2 separate regions of the Homo sapiens genome follow, and region 1 is linked to region 2. The links are contacts of gene promoters, found by promoter capture Hi-C in blood cells and fetal thymus (Javierre and others, 2016). All regions are on one chromosome and are shown on one strand. The core of a region is centred on a gene start or on the middle of the fragment in contact, and the rest is flanking DNA. Distances in the headings are between cores, read along the strand shown.

What was found. Contacts are between HindIII fragments. The CHiCAGO score rates a contact against its expected background, and 5 or more counts as called.
Region 1: a contact is called between a fragment that was not itself captured here and the fragment with the promoter of CHRNA2 in region 2, in 2 of 17 cell types (fetal thymus and naive CD8 T cells). The highest score is 5.7, in fetal thymus.

What each region holds. Positions count from the first base shown.
Region 1 is chr8:27,294,167-27,299,848 of GRCh38, reverse strand. TRIM35 (tripartite motif containing 35) reads left to right here. Exons shown (of 6, transcript NM_171982.5): 2 at 1,290-1,385; 3 at 5,539-5,682. Among named protein-coding and RNA genes, the nearest start is that of TRIM35, 14 kb to the left of the region's middle. The HindIII fragment of the contact is 1,627 bases long and covers 517-2,143 here.
Region 2 is chr8:27,477,943-27,483,391 of GRCh38, reverse strand. CHRNA2 (cholinergic receptor nicotinic alpha 2 subunit) reads left to right here and starts at 4,131. Exons shown (of 7, transcript NM_000742.4): 1 at 4,131-4,568. The HindIII fragment of the contact is 14,056 bases long and covers 1-5,449 here.

The DNA of each region.
Region 1 (5,682 bases), core at 81-2,580, 180 kb after region 2:
TTTGCCCCATAAGGAGTCATGTCCCTCCCACATGCAAAATGCACTGGCCCTCTCCCAAGCTCTCCAAACATCTCATCCCTTTACAGCATCAGCCCAAAGTCCAGATTTGTCATCTAAATCAGGTCCAGATGGGAATGAGGCTTTGGGCGACACATCTGTATAATTTATTGCTGCATATCCAGTCACCCCGACATTTAGCAGCTTAAAACACTCTCATCTCACAGGAGGGAGGGATCACTGGGTGCTGTCTCAGCAGCTGCCTCCATAGCTGTCCAGGTTCACGTCCTTCCACATACTAGCTGTGTGCCCTTGGGCTGGTCATTTCCCTTCTGTGCCTCACTTTCTCATCTATAAATGGGGCCAATAATATTACTTATCTACTAGGGAGAAGTAATGATTAAATGACATAATTTCTCAAGTAATTGGTGTTGTCCCTGGCACAGAGTAAGTACTGAATAAATGATAACCATTTATAATTATTTGAATTATTTTTCTTAAGAAAAAACTTGAGAAGCTTTCTGAGAATGTAGATCGAAAAGGATAATGAGGGAGAAAAAATGATAGGCCTAAGATACAAGAGGCAGGAATCCAACCTAAAACACTCTAGTGGTTCTTCAAGTTGTCCAAGGACATCAGAAACAATCATTAAAGTTTAAGAAACAAAAACTACTAAACCAAAAGTATTTGTGCCTGCTGATTAAAGTATTCCGTGCGATACAAGCAGTGTTAGAATGTCAGGATGCAGGAGGGGTATGGAGGGGCATGTTGGGCATGTTGAGGTGAGGCCTCATGGGAGGTAACTGAACCCCGTGGGAAATGACTGGCTCCACCCCCATTGTCAGTCACCTCACATTAGAGATTGCAGACCCATTCAGTTTAGGAAACTGCAGAGGGAACCTATGACCACACTGTCTGCAGTTGTCCACACAGCTCAGGGATTCAGACCCAGCATGAACCAGCTTTTGGCCCACATGGGACACTCTTCTGGCCTGTGCTGTGACCAACATGAGAGAGAGCAGCTTGCTTCTTCTCAGCCCCATCTCCCAGTCTGTACCAGGCTGGGCTACAGGATGTCTGAGGGCTCTTTATCCCATGGATGTCTGATTCAGGATCAGGACCTTACTTACCATTTGTGCCCAGAGCACTTGGCATGGATGGGGTTAGGCAAATGCAGTTGAGTTACACTTGTGTTGAAGTGGAGTCCCAGTTGTAAATGTGATGTGTCTGCCCTCTCTGCCCAGCCTCCAGCCCTAACCTGTCTTCCTCCCTCTCTCTCATTCCCATGTCAGGCCAAGTGCAGGAACATGGAGCATGCACTGCGGGAGAAGGCCAAGGCCTTCTGGGCCATGCGGCGCTCCTATGAGGCCATCGCCAAGCACAATCAGGTGAGCGAACGATGGGGCCAAGTGGGAAGATTGGGTCCACTCAGGGCAGTCTGGGGAGGAGTGAAGATGTGTCAGCCGTGGCTTTGGCTCACATAACCCGCTGGGTAGAGGTCGGCTGCCTTACCTCTGATGGTCCTGTGCAGCCACGTCCTGGATGCTGACTGTGGCTTCTCTGCCTTGGCCCCTCTAAAGACCCAGGCGTGGTCATGCCAGCAGCCACAGGAGTGACTTAAAAAGCTACCAACACCATCTGCACTATGGCACATGCATCATATCACTGCCACCTGTGTGTTCAATGATGACCTGGGACTCATGTACTTTCTTGTTTTCTTTCAGTTCCCACATCCACTCCATCAGCAATCCTATTCCCCTATCTCCAAAGTATGTTATTTCTGTAAAACCCTCCACCTTTTGGTCCAGGTCATCATCATCTCTCACTGGGCCTCCTGCCTAGGGCCTCATGCTTTCATTCTTGTGCATTCTCCTTTCCATGGACTGGGGTGATCGTTTAGAAAAAAACACCAGCCGTGCCCCTCCTCTGCTTAAAACTGCCAGTGGCTTCCAGTCACCCTCAGTACCACCCAGATTCCTTACCATGGCCTCCAAGGCCATCTCCTGACCCTGCCTATCCTCAACCTCATTTACTTCTCTGCCTCACCTTCTTTCTGTCCCTTAAGCAAACTAAGTCTTCTCCCCAGAACACATGCCCAGCATCTTTGCCATTAAAATCTCAGCTCAGATGTTCTCTTAAAGAAGCTTTTCCTGATCATCCTCCTCTTTTACTCGATGGCATAATTTCCTGGTTTATTTTCTTAATGACACTTCATTACCTGTAATTACCTTTTGTTTTCTATTTGCTTTTTATCCCTTCCTGTCAAAATATAATGAAAACAGGGCACACTATTGCCAGTTATCTAGAGGAGTTCTTGGCACACAATAGGTGACCAATAAAAATTGTTGATTGAATGAGTGAAGTGGGTAGGTGACCAATAACTGTTAATCAAATGAATGAGTGGGCTCCCTCTGTCCCCATTCTGGTTGTTCTGCCTGGCACCCTCTCTTCCTCCAGGTCCTGTGTGGATTGGCAACCTTGTTTCTGACTGTTGATCTTGGCTCTGGTCTTTGGCTTTCTGAAGTGGTTGCTTCTAGTAATTACCACTCTGTTAGACTCATCTTAGCCACAGCTGAGCCATGCCTGGTCCAGGTTGCTGGGCGCTGTCCTCAGGAGCCTGCGGTCCCCTCCACCATGTGTCCATAGGTGAGGATTAGTCCCAGGAAAGAGCCTCATTAACATTTGGCTGTGGAGTTTACCCTGAGCCACAGAGCTGGTGGAACAGTGTGGAAGAAAGGATTATGTGACACACTGGGTGCCAGGGCAGTAACCGCAAAGCAGACCTATTTCCAAATCTAAGCCCAGTTCCCCAGCAAATCCCTCAACCCCCTCCAAGCTAATCCCCTCCTCTGTAAAAAGAGGGCAATTCCCTTTTACTAGGGTTTTTAAAAAAAAATTTAGATAAGATAATGCATACAAGTGCCCAACAGAGACAAGTCCTTAACATTTCTGATGTCTAATAGACCAACAAACTGGTGGGAGAGAGTTTTCACTTTGTTCAGTAGATTATTTTGTCATCCGATGTCAGAGCCATAAATACATGTTGAAATTCCAACTCCAAATAGCGATTACGAACCTGCTGTTGCTGGAGTTTGTTGAGTTGTTTTTCCAGTAGTCATCGTGGAGTCATGTAGCTTTATCATTGTTCTCTTACTTGGTTTCCTTCTGTGGCTAAAGCCATATGACTGGCTTGCCTTGTACAGGACTGGGTTGGGGATACTTAGGGAGTATCTGTCTGTCTGTGTGGTGGCACTGCCTGCCCATCCCAGGGAGTGTAGGAGTCCTGAGCTTTTTGCTGAGGCTAAGGGTAATGAGGTCACATGGGAAGCCCCTAGAATTCCAGCCTGATTAGTACTTTTTCTATTAAATTCAGTTATCAGGTCGATGAGGAAAGTGAAAGTTCTGGTGTTTGTTCCTTTACAGTGAGGCCGTCATTGCCCACGGTGAGTGGGCAGGAGTTGACCTTGCACTTGCTGGTTTTTCCTGCCATGCTGTGTTCTTGATGTTTTTGTGTGATAAGAATTACTGGGGAGAGGGAGAGCATCAGGATAAATAGCTAATGCATGCGGGGCTTAATGCCTAGGTGATGGGTTGACAGGTGCAGCAGACCACCATGGCGCACATTTACCTATGTAACAAACCTGCATGTCCTGCACATGTATCCTGGAACTTAAATGTAAAAAAAAAAAAAAAAAAAGAGAATCACCCTGGATTCTACTCTCTCCAATGCAGACATTATCAGTCTTTTCAGCCTGATAGGTTAACCATGCTGTTTGTCCTCATTTGCATTTCTTTGATTATTGGTAAGTTTGTACATCTTTTCACAAGCATAATAGTCATTTATGCTTCTTCTGTGAATGCTAATTCACATTCTTTTTTTCCCTTGGAATATTTGTCTTTTCTCTTAGTGGATTTGTAAGAGTGCTTTGTACATTAATAATAATAGCCATTTGTCATAAATGTTGCAAATATATTTCCTAGTTTGTCATTTCTTTTTGAGTGGATCATTCTCAATTTTTTTGGCCATTTTCATTTTTTCAGTGAATCCTTTTCGTATATTTTCAGAGCTGTAAACATACACACAGTCCCTGGCTTATGATTTTTTGACTTTACTGTGGTACGAAAGCAATATGCATTCAGTAGAAACTGTACTTTGAGTACCCATACAACCATTCTGTTTTTCCCCTTCAGTACAGTATTCAATAAATTACATGAGACACTCAGTGCTTTATTATGACATAGGCTTTGTGTTGGATGATTCTGCCCAAGTGTAGGCTAATGTGAGTGTCCTGGGCACGTTTAAGGTAGGCTAGGCTAACCTATGATGTTTTTAGTAGGTTAGGTGTATTCATTGCTTTGACTTAACTATTTTTCAACTTATGATGGGTTTATTGGGATGTAACCCCATCATAACTTGAGGAGCATCTGTATTTAACTTTCAGTCCAAAGATGAGTTTACTAACCTGCCATTGCCACAGCACACATTTTGAATGGTTTTTCCAACAGTTGTCATGGAATTGTATTTTTGTCTTTAACTTTATGATAGTCTCTTGCCATACACACCTCTTATTTTTCTGTGTATTCAGTTATCTCATTCTTTCTTCAAGGCTTCTCAGTTTCATACTGTGCCGAGGAATGTCTTTCTTATTCCAAGCTGAGAAATATTTATTTGCTTTTTCTTTCATTACATTTATGGTTTTATCTTCCCTTTTAAAAAACTTTTTGTGAGGCTGGGCACAGTGGCTCACGCTTGTAATCCCAGCACTTTGGGAGGCCGAGGCGGGCAGATCACCTTAAGTCAGGAGTTTGAGACCAGCCTGACCAACGTGGCAAAACCCCATCTCTACTAAAAAATACAAAAATTAGCTGGGCGTGGTGGCGTGTGCCTGTAGTCCCAGCTACTCGGGAGGCTGAGGCAGGGAAAATTGCTTGAACCCAGGAGGCAGAGGTTGCAGTGAGCCAAGATCACACCACTGCACTCCAGCCTAGGTGAAAGAGCGAGACTTAGTCTCAAAAAGAAAAAAAAAAACAAACTTTTTGTGGTTGTGATTTGGAGTGTGTATATTATTTTAATGATTGTTTTAAAATGAATGCTTCCTACTGCTCTTTTGGTAAAGCCTCTGGATCAGACAAATTTTAAGTCCTAAGATTGGAAGGTAAATACTTAAAAAAAAATCATTGCTATTCGCAGCCATTCATTTCTATGATTCAGGACTTCCCTTGTTATGGTGCAACCTAAAGAAGGAACTGAACATTGTATGTAGATGAGGTTATAGTACTACAGTTGCCATCTATATAAGCTGTGATTTTATTTTTAAAAACCCTGTCAAAACAATCTAATATTAGGTTGTTGGACTTTCCCATTTGAAATCGGAACTTAGAAATTTGTGCTTATAAACTATTATGTTGATATTTTATCTGTAGGGGTTCTATACATGATTTATTTGAACATAAATTTCCTTTGCTAAAAATGGGAAAGTTGCTGGGCTATGGATGTCCTCTCCACATCTGACCCCTGACTCCTCCTGCTGTCTTCCGTAGGTGGAGGCTGCATGGCTGGAAGGCCGGATCCGGCAGGAGTTTGATAAGCTTCGCGAGTTCTTGAGAGTGGAGGAGCAGGCCATTCTGGATGCCATGGCCGAGGAGACAAGGCAGAAGCAACTTCTGGCCGACGAGAAGATGAAG
Region 2 (5,449 bases), core at 2,882-5,381:
CACACCCCAGGTAAACCAGTTTTCTTCATGATCCACCCCCTCCCTGCCTCTAGACTTCAACTAGAGTCAGATCCCTACATGTCCTGGCAGGTGGGGCATGGGAAAACCTGAGAAGAAACGTAAAACACACCCCAAGTCTGCAAGATTCTGCTTGTTTGTGGTCACAATCTGGTGAATATACACAGGAATAGACTCTTGAGGTCCTAGACCAAGGACAGAAAGTTGAAGTGGAGTTTGGCTGACAGGGGTGTGCTTTCTAAAGATTTGGGTTTAGTCTACAAAGTCGAACAGCTGGAGAAAGTACTCACAGTTTGCTCAACTGGTAGTCCATGCAAAGTGAAGATGAGATACCAGAAATTAGTTCAATGTAATGGAAGACTTGGAGGAACAGGAATATTGGAATGGATTTCTTAATATATGACCTGCTCGCCTTCCTCCTGATGTGGAAGGACTCATCAGAGACCTCTTTTTCCAAGACCTTGAGAGGTGCATTGGTGAGGAAGAACCATCATCTCAATTACAGGAAAGTGCAGGAAGTGGTTTGAACCTTCAGTCCGAAGGTTAGAGTTAGGGAAACTTCTCAGTGCATGGCTGTATTAGTCCATCCTCACATTGCTGTAAATACCTGAGACTGGGTAATTTATAAAGAAAAGAGTCTTAATTGGCTCACGGTTTGCAGGCTGTACAGGAAGCATGGCTGGGGAGGCCTCAGGAAACTTACGGTTATGGCAGAAAGCAAAGGGGAAGCAGGCACGTCTTCACATTGCTACAACAGAAGGAAGAAGAGAGAAGGGGGAGATTCTACACTCTCTTAAACACCAGATCCTGTGAGAACTCACTCACTATCATGAGAAGAGCAAGGGAGAAATCCACCCTTACGATCCAGTCACCTTCCACCACACCCCACCTCCAACATTGGGGATTACAATTTAACACGCGATTTAGGTGGCAACACAAATCCAAACCTATCAATGGCACATGTCCATCATCTGTCTGCTGAAGGAGGAAGCAAGAGGAAGCTGTGTAGTGCCCCCTACCTAACAAAACCATAAATGCAATTAATACAATGTCTCCAGAGGAATCCCAAGGATTAGGGCCACCAGCAAAGGCTGTAAGGATGCAGAAGTGGTAATTTTGATGATCTCCAAATGCTACCTAAGGTAGATGGGTCTCATAGAATGTCAGTGGTTCATTGTAAACTTAAGTGATTCCGATTACAGAAGCTGTTCCCAATGTGGCCCGAATGCTCATCTTCCCAGCAGTAGTGGCAAACCCTGGTCTCTGGATGTGCTGGCAGAGCCCAGAGGTTCAAATTATTCACTTGGTGGCAAGTTGATTGTAGTGAATGCCTTATATGCTTGAGAAGGCAGCAATCTGGCTTTTGTGGAATACAGTAGATGCTTATTCTGGAGAATGGCTGGAGAGGAAACCAATACATACCCACTCTAACCTCATGATCTATTACTACAATGAGCACTGTACCTGTCTGTATTTTCTTACTGGCTTTGCTAATTTATTTCATATTCTGCCCACCCCATTACTTTCTATGTGTGTATTTTGAGTGAACGTTATGATTTATTCCATAGAAAACAGAATTTCAAGGTGGCACATGTGTCAGGAATTAGAGCAGGAGGCTGGACTTGGAGCTGGATGGTCACTGGTGAGACTTGGGGTTCTATCCCTGTGGAGTTAGGGTGGGGTTAGGGGGAGGCTTTTTGCTTGTGTGAGGAATGGTTGCATTCTGCTAGATTCTACATTTGTATGTTTGGCATCCACTATATGCACGGCCAAACTAACAGCCAACTTTGTTACATCTCCCCTGCAATCAGCTTTTGCAGGTGCACTACAGTTATAGTACAAGCCCTCTGCCTAATCTTGACTCAGTATCCCCAACAGCACCATTTGTCTAACTCTCACACACCGAGCCAGTATTCCTCCTGCCACAAATCACCTCAGAGCTAGGTACTGGGCAATTAGAGACCATCCCTATAGCTCAGAGCCCACCAAGATTATTCCAACTATCTCATCGCAAGCTGCTTCCTTGCACTGCCCTGGTTTTCCCGGGGAAACCTCATAAAGGCTCGGGGCCAGGCTTCCCACATTGTGCCCTCCACCTCCTGACACTCCCTGGTGCTGCTCTGTGTGGCCCTGCGGGAATGTGCCACCCCTCCTGTTTCTAGGGATCTGTGAGTATAAACTCCTTCCTTTATGACAGTCACTTCTGTGTCTGCATGTCTTACCAAACCTGATTAAAACAAATTCTGGGTGAAAATTTTAGGACAATTAGATGTAAACATTTTTTTTCAAAGTGTGATGATGGAAAGTCGAGTGTGCACTGATGTTAGGAGCCAAAGAGCTAGATTTCGTGTGGCGGGGAGGGGGGTGCTTTCCAGCATTGAAACAACTTTCAAATATTTCAGGAATGTCCCCCCTCTTGAAGTGGGCAGAGCCCACCTTCCACATAGAAGCTCAAAACCCCAGATTCCTGCTTCCTTGGCCTTCCTGGCATCTGGTTTGGGAGCACATGCTTTAATCAGATGCATCTGTTTCGACCTTTGTATGCAGAGCTAGTGACACAAAGGAGCAGGGCTGGAGGAGAATTAACTGTGGCAGCGGTGGCAGCAGCAGGGATGGCTGCTTCCAGGGACAGCGGTGACAGCGGCACCCATGACGGTGCCAGGTTCACATGCAGCTCTGTAGCAGCAGGACCCACCATGCTGGCCGCGGGGCAGAGGCTTCCCTCTTCTCCCTGCTCTCCAAGCAGCCCCTCCAGATTTCTAGGTGCTTCTGTGAACCACCCGTTGTTCCTCAATAAAACCATTCTCCACTTAAAGTAATTGGTAGGTTTTTATTGCTTGCAACCAAGAATCCTGATGGATACAAGCTGTGATTTTCTTTTCTTTTCTTTCCTTTCCTTTCCTTTCTTTTCTTTTTTCTTATTTCTTCCCTCCTTCCCTTCCTTCCTTCCTTCAGTCTCCAAATGAAAAATGTATACATCTAACTTTATATATATGTAAATATGGTAAAATATTAACATTTATTAATTATGAATAGTGGAAATATGAGTGTTTATGGTTTTTTGGTATTTTATGTCTTTTAATTCTCTCAAAAGATGATTCTAGCAATCGCATGCACATGTGTACACACAATGCACGTGTGTGTTTGTGTTTATTTGTGCTAATTGACTCCTCATAGTAAACCTATGAGGCAGGAGCCATTGTTCACATCCTCTTTTTACATCTGAGGAAACTGAGGCATAGGAAGCTGAAGAGGCCTGTCCAGGATTATGCAGCTGTTCAAGAGCAGAGCTAGAAATTCAGCCTCAGCAGTCTGTGGCCGGGTCATGTCCAGGGCCTTTGCTTTTAACAAAATAAGGGAGATGAGCTAGCAAGTAGCTTGAGGGAAAGGCCGAAAGCAGAGTGTTTTTAGGGTGGAGGATGAGCTTCTTTAGGGGCTGAAGGGAAGGAACGAGTGGGGCAGAGAGGGAGGATCTGAGAAAGCCCAGGCTGTTAATAGATGGGGTGATGTCAAGATCACAGTGGGCCAGGATTCGCCATGCACAGGAGGAGACAGGAGTACTCATCTGATACTAGAGAAAAGGAGGCTTCACCGGAAAATCAAAGGCAAGGTCACCTGCAAGGAGGCTGACGGGGTGACAGAGAAGCAGCCACACCGGGTGGCCGCGCAAGTGACCGGTGGTCCTCTAGGGTGGTGGGGGGAGGGGTCTCACAGGGGAGGAGGGCAAGGAGAGAACCGTGGGCTGGCTGGCAGCTCTGTCCTTACTCCAATTTTTCCGATGCTATTTACTGACTTAGAAGGTAAATACATTCCAAGGTTCTTCAAGTTCTTTACAGCTGGGCTTGTTCCAAGGCTGGAATTTGTGAAGTGGATTCACATACAGTGAAGCTGTATTGACAGACAGACCCAGGACCCAGGACCCAGAACCTGTGGGTGCACTCAGGGGCCCCAGGCAGTGATCCTGGAGCCCAGGGGTCCAGAGAGCAGGGAAGGGAGCATCGTGGTGACTGGACAGAGCTGCATCTGTCCCCACCGGACATAGGCTGGAGAGTCACAGGCTCCTCCTCCTTCCCCTCCAGAGAGGCTGTGTGTGTGTGTGTGTGTGTGTATGTGTGTGTGTGTGTGAGAGAGAGAGAGAACAGCGTGAGCCTGTGTGCTTGTGTGCTGAGCCCTCATCCCCTCCTGGGGCCAGGCTTGGGTTTCACCTGCAGAATCGCTTGTGCTGGGCTGCCTGGGCTGTCCTCAGTGGCACCTGCATGAAGCCGTTCTGGCTGCCAGAGCTGGACAGCCCCAGGAAAACCCACCTCTCTGCAGAGCTTGCCCAGCTGTCCCCGGGAAGCCAAATGCCTCTCATGTAAGTCTTCTGCTCGACGGGGTGTCTCCTAAACCCTCACTCTTCAGCCTCTGTTTGACCATGAAATGAAGTGACTGAGCTCTATTCTGTACCTGCCACTCTATTTCTGGGGTGACTTTTGTCAGCTGCCCAGAATCTCCAAGCCAGGCTGGTTCTCTGCATCCTTTCAATGACCTGTTTTCTTCTGTAACCACAGGTAAGAAAGGTACCCAAGGCTTATGTTGAGGGCGGCATGCATGTGGAGAGCTTGTGGATATGGGGTCAAAGAAATACTAGCAGTTTCTGGGTACTCAGGAGGGGGTTATGTCTGAATGCTGGATGTCACCTGCTCCTAGAAATATTTTAGTCTCCTGGTTGTCCCTGCTGGAGCTGTCCACAGCCAGGTGACGATGAACACCTCCTGGCTAGGATGGCTAGCCCAGTCTCAGGAATAGTGGCTTTGTTACACTGTATCTGCTCCTATGTCTTTACTACTGCTGTCCATTCTTTTGTTCATTTATTTACTCATTCTGTAAATTGTCTATGTCCTTTAAAAGGGCTAAAAGACAGCAATGCTATTTACTGACTTAGAAGGTAAATACCTTCCAAGGTTCTTCAAGTTCTTTACAGCTGGGCTTGTTCCAAGGCTGGCATTTGTGAAGTGGATTCCTCCATCAGCTGGTGTGGTTGTTCAGATGACCTTCAAGATCCCACCCAACCTTGAGTGTTAAACTTCTGTGATTGAGCAAAACAGATATAAAAGCTAGAATTACACTCTCTAGCCCCTAAGCACCTTGAGTGCATTTATTTGGAAGAAGAAATCATACTGGTTTCTCTAATGGAGGGGCTTCTTTGGGAGTGTAATGTTGCCAGTTGTGAAAAAGCTGAGACCTGTATGCTTGGGGAGGTTCTGGACAGCAGAAAGGAACCAGGTGGGATGGAAGCAGCCTTTTGGGAGAAGGAAATGTTAGTAAAAAGAGGAGAATGTGGACTGGTGGGTGAGAAGTTGAAAACAGAATTAGTAGAACCATGGACAGGGAAGTGAGCTCAAATCACCTTGACCTCCACGGAACCAGGATTCAGGCAGGCTAGAGATGC